3 separate regions of the Homo sapiens genome follow, and all the other regions are linked to region 3. Evidence: promoter capture Hi-C in human tissues and cell types (Jung and others, 2019). All regions are on one chromosome and are shown on one strand. Each heading gives the region's core, a stretch centred on a gene start or on the middle of the fragment in contact. The rest is flanking DNA. Distances are from core to core; before and after follow the strand shown. Region 1 overlaps DCAF10 (DDB1 and CUL4 associated factor 10). Region 2 has its middle 20 kb from the start of SLC25A51. Region 3 holds the start of IGFBPL1 (insulin like growth factor binding protein like 1).

Region 1 (2,903 bases), core at 217-2,716, 590 kb before region 3:
GCTCATGCCTGTAATTCCCGCACTTTTGGGTGGATCACCTGAGGTAGGGAGTTCGAGACCAGCCTGACCAACATGGAGAAACCCCGTCTCTACTAAAAATACAAAAATTAGCCGGGCATGGTCGTGCATGCCTGTAATCCCAGCTACTCGGGAGGCTGAGACAGGAGAATCACTTGAACCCGGGAGGCGGAGGTTGCGGTGAGCCAAGATTGTGCCATTGCATTCCAGCCTGGGCAACAAGAGCAAGACTCCATGTCAAAAAAATTAATAAATAAAATAAAATAAAACAAAAAACTACAATGAAGAATAACTACAGAAAGATGTTCAAGCTTATCATTTATTATGGAAGTACAAATAAAAATAACAGTAAATACCAAGTATTGGCAGAAAAATACTTGCTATTTCTCTCGGCAGCGAAACGTTGAGAAATAGGCACTCTTAGATATTACTGATGAAGTATAAATTTATAACATTATTTTGAAGAGCAGTTGAGCAATATATGGTAAAGCTGAAGATTAATTTTTTTTTAATAATTGATGCAGGCTGGGCATGGTGGCTCATACCTGTAATCCCAGCATTTTGGGAGGCTGAGGTGGGACAATCACTGGAGGGCAGGAGTTCAAGACTAGCCTGGGCAACACAGTGAGACTCCGTCTCTACAAACAATTTAAAAATTAGCCAGGTGTAGTTGCACGTGCCTATAGTCCCAGCTACTTAGAAAGCTTAGGAGGAATGCTTGAGCCCAGGAGTTTGAGGCTGCAGGGAGCCATGATTGCACCACTGCATTCCAGTCTGGGTGACAGAGCAAGACCCTGTCTCTTAAAGAATAAAGAAGAAGAAGAAAGAAATTAATGCATATGTGGACACGGAGGTATATGAAGAAGATTCATTATAGCATTGTTTGTAATAGAGAGAAGTTGGAAACGAATGTCTATCAAGAGGAAATATTAATAGATAAATAAATTCTGGTGTACTCATACAATGAAATACTATACATCAGTTAAGATAAATGAACTAAAAGCATCAGCATCTGATACACATCTCAGAAATTTAAAGTTGAGGTAGAAAAGAAAAAAATGTAGAATGAGCTTTATATAGTGTGATACCATTTACATAAAATTTGAAAACATTACAAACATAAGCTTGGTGAGGGCATGTATTTGTTCTGTGCTCTATCCCAGCATCTAGAATTGTGCCTAGCATATGGTGGGTTCTTATTAAACATTTACAGAGAAAAAACTGAACGCAAAACAATACTATAAAGTGTTTATGGTTACATACATATGAATTCATGGTATTAAAAATTTACATGGGAATAACAACAACTTTTGGATAGTGGTTCCCTCTGGGGAGGAAGAGAAGGGAAGGGACTGGGGAGGGATATACAAGGCACTTCAACTGTGTTTGTAATGTTCAAAAATATGTGAAAGATAAAATGTTAAAATTGATAAAGCTGAGTGGTATCACAGATGTTTGTTATATTTTTCATAGTTTTCTCTATGTTGCTAATATGTTATAATTTAAAAATTTCTTAGAAAGATAAGACTTGTGCCAAGTTGTTTGCCTTTACTCAAAACAACCTTTGGCTAATCCGCTATTAGAATGTATTATTTATCAATGTTAGCCTTCATTTGCTGCTGCCAGTATGCCTGCCATAGCAACTCATGCCTACAAATTTGAATCTGCTTCTTCTGATCTGTTGATTAGAGAAATCGATTTTGAAGCTCGTTTAGAAGTATACATAACTTAAGAGTTTTGGCTGGGCGCAGTGGCTCATGCCTGTAATCCCAGCACTTTGGGAGGCTGAGGTGGGCAGATTGCCTGAGGTCAGGAGTTCCAGACCAACCTGGCTAACATGGTGAAACCCCGTCTCTATTAAAAATACAAAAATTAGCTGGGCGTGGTGGCACACGCCTGCAGTCCCAGCTACTCGGGAGGCAGGAGACTCGCTTGAACCCAGGAGGCAGAGGTTGCAGTGAGCCGAGATCGCGCCACTGCACTCCAGCCTGGGCGATAGAGCGAGACTCTGTCTCAAAAAAAAAGAAAGTTTTGAGTGAAGATCTGAAGAGTCTTTGGTGCATGAGCTCAAGTGTGCTTTATTTATTAATAATACTAACTTCCATTTTTTAATGCTTTCTATGTGCCAAACCTTCTGTGAAGCACTTTTTATACATTACTTAATCCTCACAGTATCCCTCTGTGAGACAGATATTGTAGCTATTTAAGGAATAAAAAACTATAACTCAAATAAAGAGATTTGCCCAAGTTCTTAGATATAGTAAGTGGTGGAGCTGGAATTCATACTCAGTTCCATTAGATCACCTCACTGTACTGTTCAGAGACAGGGGCATGCATTTTCTGGTTTGAATCTAGACGGTCATTTTGTACATACTTGGTAATGTCTTCTAGTTCATTTCTTAGTTTTGTAGTTTGCTTATTATCTTGTAAAATAAAAAAATAAAAAACATTGGTAGTTACGGACAATATTTTCTATTACTTCATATTTTGGGAAAGTAGTGGGAAAAGTCTGTAATTTAAATACTTACACCCATTATACAGGCTTACTTCTCATTCCTGAGGGATCTGTATGTGGATTTAGAGTTCCTTTAATAATCATTAGCTGGGCGTGGTGGCCGGCATCTGTAATCCCAGCTACTCGGGAGGCTGAGGCAGAGAATTGCTTGAACCTGGGAGGCGGAGGCTGTAGTGACCCGAGATTGTGCCACTGCACTCCAGCCTGGGCGACAGAGCGAGACTCCGTCTCAAAAAACAAAACAAAAAAAAGATCTAGGTCCCCCCAGTTATGAAGTTGCAGGGAGAAGCCCGGAGGTCATCATAAAAATATTTACTTAGTGATATTACATTTAAAAAATTAGTACCTATTTAGTCGGGCATGGTGGCGG
Region 2 (2,869 bases), core at 123-2,622, 540 kb before region 3:
GCTCATACCACTCTCAGTGTGTTCAATACGGAATCCATAACATTTCTGGTGGCATCACACATGAAGTATAGGACACAAGACCATAAGTGTCCTGCGCTCATGAGCCATTTGTGCCACAGACGTAACAGAAAGGCCACTTTTAAAGCTTTTCAGATATTCAATCACATTTGCCTTTTCAATTTTTTTTTTTGAGACAGAGTTTCACTCTGTTGCCCAGGCTGGAGTGCAGTGGCGCAATCTCGGCTCACTGCAACCTCCGCCTCCCAGGTTCAAGCGATTCTCCTGCCTCAGCCTCCTGGGTAGCCGGGATCACAGGCATGTGCCACCATACCCGGCTAGTTTTTTGTATTTTTAGTAGAGATGGGGTTTCGCCATGTTGGCCAGGCTGGTCTCAAACTTCTGACCTCAAGTGATCCACCCGCCTTGGCCTCCCAAAGTGCTGGGATTACAGGCGTGAGCCACCGCACCCGGCCTGCCTTTTCAAAGTTGTTACCACACTAGTTCACACTGAAGGTAAAAGCAATAGTTAGAATCTCTTATTAACAACACATTTTGACTTCAAGTTCAGACAAAGCTGTTGGTTACAAGTTCTGCTAAATTTTTTGTCAAATTTAAGAAGTCTATAGGACAACACAAAACCATCCCTGGTAATGTATTTGCAGTTTGGTCTTCAAAAGCTGTAAAGAGTGACAAAGAAATAAAAAAAAATACTGAGTTAAAACCATTAAAAATATTTATTAATAATTGTTTTTAAATGCCACTTATTTGAGACAGCAGAAACCAAAGCATTTTCTTTAGAATTCTCACTTAGCTTGTATTTCACAAAAGTGCTTTAGAACTCAGATTTCTACCACCTGTGTGGAGTGTAAAGACAAAAGGAAGCCCAACAAAACCAAAGGCCCAATGGTGTCTATTCCCAGGGCCAAGGTATAACCCCAGGCTAACCCACCTGCCCTGGGCTGAGTAGCTGCACACACCTGTGAGTGCTCAAAGTCACACGCATGATTGAGGGGGTCAGGCACCAAGGTGCCTTTATTTATTCATTTCTCAAACTCAATTCCCTTCAAATCCTGACTCGATTTAATAGGCCAATGGATGCTACTCATATTTATTTGGTGCCAAATTATTATTTTTTTAAATCCTTACATCTGCACCTTGAAAGCAAACTGCAATATCCAGCACAACATTGTCAGAGCTGCTGTATGGCTATTTAGCTTTATTACTGCCTGGCTAATGCTTAATACGCTTCATCCTTTACAGCTGGAAGAAGGATGGTCACTGTATTTAACCAGCCATAGTGCATTTAGAGGTCAACAGCTTTTATGGACTATTTGTCCAAGAACTTTCAGTAAACTACCAAGTTGAGGCCTTTATTTTGGTCAGTATGTATAAATATTCATATGCAATTATCCAGAAAGAAGAAAAACTGGTTAACAAGAAACCTACTGTCATGTCAGATGCTGGAAATCAATCTTTAGCTACATAATATTTACAGAAAGGGTTTTAAGATGCATAATCCACTTTTTCAGTCTGTCTCTTGTATTTCATTAGTCAATTGGAAGTGGCACAAGTTTCATCTGGAAAAAATATTTTCACCTTTTCTAATTCTTTTGACAAATAAGTTTTTGTCTGTTAAGGGATGAGAATGCTATTTGGCTATTACCTACTTTTAGAATTCAAACTAACCCTTCAAATGTCTTTATTTAGATCATATGCTCTCAAACTATCTTATTGTTTTACTGACACAATGGTAAAACTGGGTTCCCAAAATGTCAAAACCCTAATGGAGTCTCTATTTCCAAGAGTAAAATAAAAGACAGCTAACACTGTGAGGTGAAAACTATCCTGAGCCTTTTTTCCCCTCTCTTTAACATTTAGAAACTAGGGGGAAAAAAGTGGGATTGCATTAATAGACTTCCAAAACAAAATGTTATGGAAGTGTTTATTTTTTAAAAGGAGAGTTTTAAGAGAACAGGATGCTTGAATATGACCAACTCCCACTCAAGGGGAAAAATAACCACAGGCCTTTGCTGAGATGGCACCAGTAATTCAAAGAAACCAAGCTAACCAGAATTTGATCCACACACAAAATGAAAACTTGTTAACAGGATGGAACAACTATAACAAGATTCAAGTCCCTTCATCTTTTGGCAATGAAATAAGTGAAATTATAACACAAGGACATTTTGGAAGGGTTGAAGATCACAGTCAGAATCAAACAGAAAACTTTCAAACCTAGAAAGCAAAACAGGAACTTTCATAGCTCCTTGATCTACCATATCTAAATAGAAATAGTATAATGCCTATCCAATAGGTGCTTAGTTTCAAAACTAATACAAGCAATTTATCATGAAAAGCCTATACCTAATAAGCTGTTTTTCTTTTCTGTTCTGCCCCTTTGTCATATGCTTGAGCTTAATGAAGACTGTCCTCTGCAGCTGCTCCTGAGGGCAGAGAAGCAAGCAATGGAGTAACAAAGGAAGCCTGAGGAGCCCCTGGCCCCTGAGGACCTTCTCCTCTGGCCGGTCACAGCCACTTATGTTTCAATGCAGGCGATTTCAAGATTGGTTTAAGAAAAAGAATCCTATCTTGGGGATTAGGTTCCCTGTCAAAGGCCATCAGATGGACAGCTATTTACCAGGCAATTAGCCTAAAGCTCTTAGGTAATGATAAAAAAAAAAAAAAAAAAAAAAAAAACCTTGTATTTTCCTATTGGAACCTTTTATCCTATTTTGTTGATGCTTAAGGAAAAAAGCTTTGCCCATAACTCACTGTGGCCTGGAGTTACGACACCAACTTATATTTGGCCAATTAAGAAAGAGATTCTCCTGCCTCAGCCTCCCGAGTAGCTAGGACTACAGGCGCCCGC
Region 3 (2,842 bases), core at 312-2,811:
TTCTTTCTTGAAGCTAAGTCATTACACTGACTTAGGCACTAAAGTCTGGACTTGGTCTCTGGGCTCAGGCCAGAATTATTTCCCAGAAGCCTGAACTCCAGGCCGAAACCCAGGCTCCTTGGGACTCACTGGCCACCTTCTCACTCACCCTAAACTCAGCACTGCCCACTCCAGGCAAAGTACACAGCGGCACTTCAAAACCTAGTGGGTGGAATACACTCATGCTTAGGAAGCCGGTAAAGCAGTGCTAACGTTTTGGTTTCTTTTTGTTTGGTTTTCAAAAGGTACATAAAGAGGGTGGGCAACTATAGCACTCAGAGATTATTTTACTGTGATGTTAATGAAGCTTAAGTTTCTAAGTCCCTAGCATTTCATAATAAGTTTCTAAGTCCCTAGCAGTTCTATTCCTTTACTTAAGGCAGGACTCTCCAAATTATATATGTTTTAGAAGCACGAAACCTGAGTCTGCCCCTAATAGCACCACAATCTTTTCAGACCTTACGTCTCCAAAGGTCTTACTTCTCCTGGATGGAGCTCCCTCAGCATCCCAGCTCAGCCCCTTCCCACACCGGGGGCCCTGGTGCTCTGGTGCTGTGGCCTGGTGACTACTGATTCCCCAGTCTGGAACTCATCCTCCTCCTGCATCCTCAACTTCCCTTCCTCCCCTATCCTCTACTTCCCTTCCTCCCCCAACCTCAACTTCCCTTCCTCCCCATTCAAACAATCCACCTAGCGCTGGATACCTGGGAACTCGGATCCCCCTCCTTAACTCCCAGTCTCCTGCTGGGCAAACATACCATGCCTACAAATAAGTGACTGCATCAGCAGGTACTTAAGTACCAAAAGGGGTAGCAGGCTCACCAAAAATTCGACTAGCACAGTGAGTGGCGTCTCCAAGGATTCTCGCCCCAGTCTCTCTGAGCACGAGGAGAGATATGAAATACTGCTCCCTAAGGGGAAACTGAGTGCCAGGCAGCGCCGTCCACCACTGGGCAGGGGGATCCTTCGCTCCACACCCCAGAGGGTTGGAATCCCTCCTTCTCTACCCACCCAATCCCCGACCCTGACTCACCGAACTCGCAAGGGCCGTCGCGCGCCTTGTGCAGGTGACCGGGGTGCGCGCGGGGCGTGTGCCGAGCGCGCAGGCGCAGCGCGCAGACGCTGGGGTACGAGCGACCGTCGGAGCCGCAGACGGTGCCGCGCTGCGCGCACACGCAGAGCCCGGTGCCCTCGGGCGCTGCCCCAGCGGCCTGGCTCGCGCATACCAGGCCGGGGCCACAGCGCCCGCCGGCGCGGCCCCCGCAGCTCGCGCCCTCGGCTCCCAGGCAGCGGGCGCAGCAGCCGCACTCGTCGAGCGCCGAGATCCCGGGCGCCGGGCAGGGCGCAGGCGCCGGGCAGCCCTCTGGCCGGCACGGACCACACTTGGGGCGCCGGCCGCCCACGTCGCGGATCCCAAGGCTCGGGGACAGCGGCGGCAGCAGCGGCAGCAGCAGCAGAAGCAGCAGCGGCAAGAGCAGAGACAAGCGCGGCATGGCTTGCTCCGGGACAGCGGCGGCGCCTCTGCTTCGCGCTCCGCTCCGCGCCCGCCGAGCAGTCACCGCTCCCGCCCCGCGGCCGCTGATTGGCCGGGCCTGCACCGCGGGGCGCCCGCAGACCGCTGCTCCAGCCCGGGACCCGCGCGGTGCCCGCGGCCCGGGTCTCCGAGCTGGAGGGTCGCCCCGAGAGCAGCTCTCCGACCTCCGATTGGACTCTTGAGGGAACCGAGACCCAGTCGGGGCGACAACTTGCCCGAGGTCGCTATGGCAGAGTCAGGATTGGATAACCGTACGGTCTCCGGATCCAAGGCTGGCTCCAGATAGTATGCCCGTAAATCCTCCCAGAAGGATGCGCTATTTTATTTAATTTTATTTTGCATTCAGTAGTTTTCAAAGTTTTATTTTATAAAGAGAATATATGGTTTAAAATGTAGATTTTACATATACATCTAAGGATGAAAAGAGGGTTACCCTACCACCTTGTATCCCCATCCTCCAACTCGGCTTCCAGAGGCCACTCTTGCTATCGGGTTTTTGTATATCTTTTCAGAAATTTTCTCTATGCCTATAAAAGTACATGTGCCTAAAAAAGCCCCTTCCTTTAAAACACACACACTCTGTTTCTCTCTCACACACACAGAGTAGCGTGCCATACACATTAGTCTGCACTTGGTTTTTGCACTTACAGTGTTTCACAGTTTCCCCACCTCTTGTCATCTGTGAAACTGGGTTTCTTATACAATCAATGGGAGCATAGTTCATTGGCTCTGTGAGTGTGTTTCTTAATGCTGCATAAAGTCATGGTACATCTCCGTCCACAGTGACTTTGTTGTGATGAGATATGGTGATATATTTTGGAGTTCATACAGAGTGGCCTTTCCACAGGGTTTAGTTGCAGTTATTTAACCACTTATTTTCCATCCTTTGGTTAATACGAATAATGCTTTGATGAAGTCTTGGTGCACAAGGGTCAGTGTACCTGTGGCTTACTGGGGAATGCATGTTGGAAAGATGCAGTTTCTTGTAGTCAGTTATTCATGCCGCCGTTGCGCCTTCTCTGGGCCAGGCTCTGTGCACACCATCCTGCCTGAGTTCTGGCAGGGCACCCAGACGAGAAACCTAAGAGAGTCTTGGCTGCTGGGATTTGATGTGTTGCTGGGTAAATGCACTGGATGGAGGGAGGGACTCGCTGAGCAGGTTTTATAGGAGACTTTTCCTGCCTTTACTGGCCACCCCTCATGTGTCTTGTGCTCTATTGTTTTTTCTTTGCTGAACTCCTGGAGATGGAGAAAGCCTCTTGCAGCCTG

What was found. The method cuts DNA at HindIII sites, captures the fragments that hold promoters and counts their contacts. A contact is called where the count stands out against the background at its distance.
Region 1: a fragment that was not itself captured here is called in contact with the fragment with the promoter of IGFBPL1 in region 3 in 2 of the 25 tissues and cell types used here (dorsolateral prefrontal cortex and hippocampus).
Region 2: a fragment that was not itself captured here is called in contact with the fragment with the promoter of IGFBPL1 in region 3 in 1 of the 25 tissues and cell types used here (dorsolateral prefrontal cortex).

The regions. Positions count from the first base shown.
Region 1 is chr9:37,829,184-37,832,086 of GRCh38, forward strand. All of the region lies in intron 2 of DCAF10 (DDB1 and CUL4 associated factor 10), which reads left to right. Among named protein-coding and RNA genes, the nearest start is that of DCAF10, 30 kb to the left of the region's middle. The HindIII fragment of the contact is 6,117 bases long and covers 1-2,903 here.
Region 2 is chr9:37,882,672-37,885,540 of GRCh38, forward strand. It overlaps a transcript of SLC25A51 not described here and the pseudogene PAICSP1. Among named protein-coding and RNA genes, the nearest start is that of SLC25A51, 20 kb to the right of the region's middle. The HindIII fragment of the contact is 3,987 bases long and covers 1-2,869 here.
Region 3 is chr9:38,422,893-38,425,734 of GRCh38, forward strand. It overlaps IGFBPL1 (insulin like growth factor binding protein like 1), which reads right to left and starts at 1,562. Exons shown (of 5, transcript NM_001007563.3): 1 at 1,073-1,562. The coding sequence starts at 1,532. It overlaps LOC105376041 (a long non-coding RNA gene), which reads left to right and starts at 1,719. Exons shown (of 8, transcript XR_007061487.1): 1 at 1,719-1,858. RefSeq lists an enhancer at 2,607-2,842. The HindIII fragment of the contact is 5,843 bases long and covers 1-2,842 here.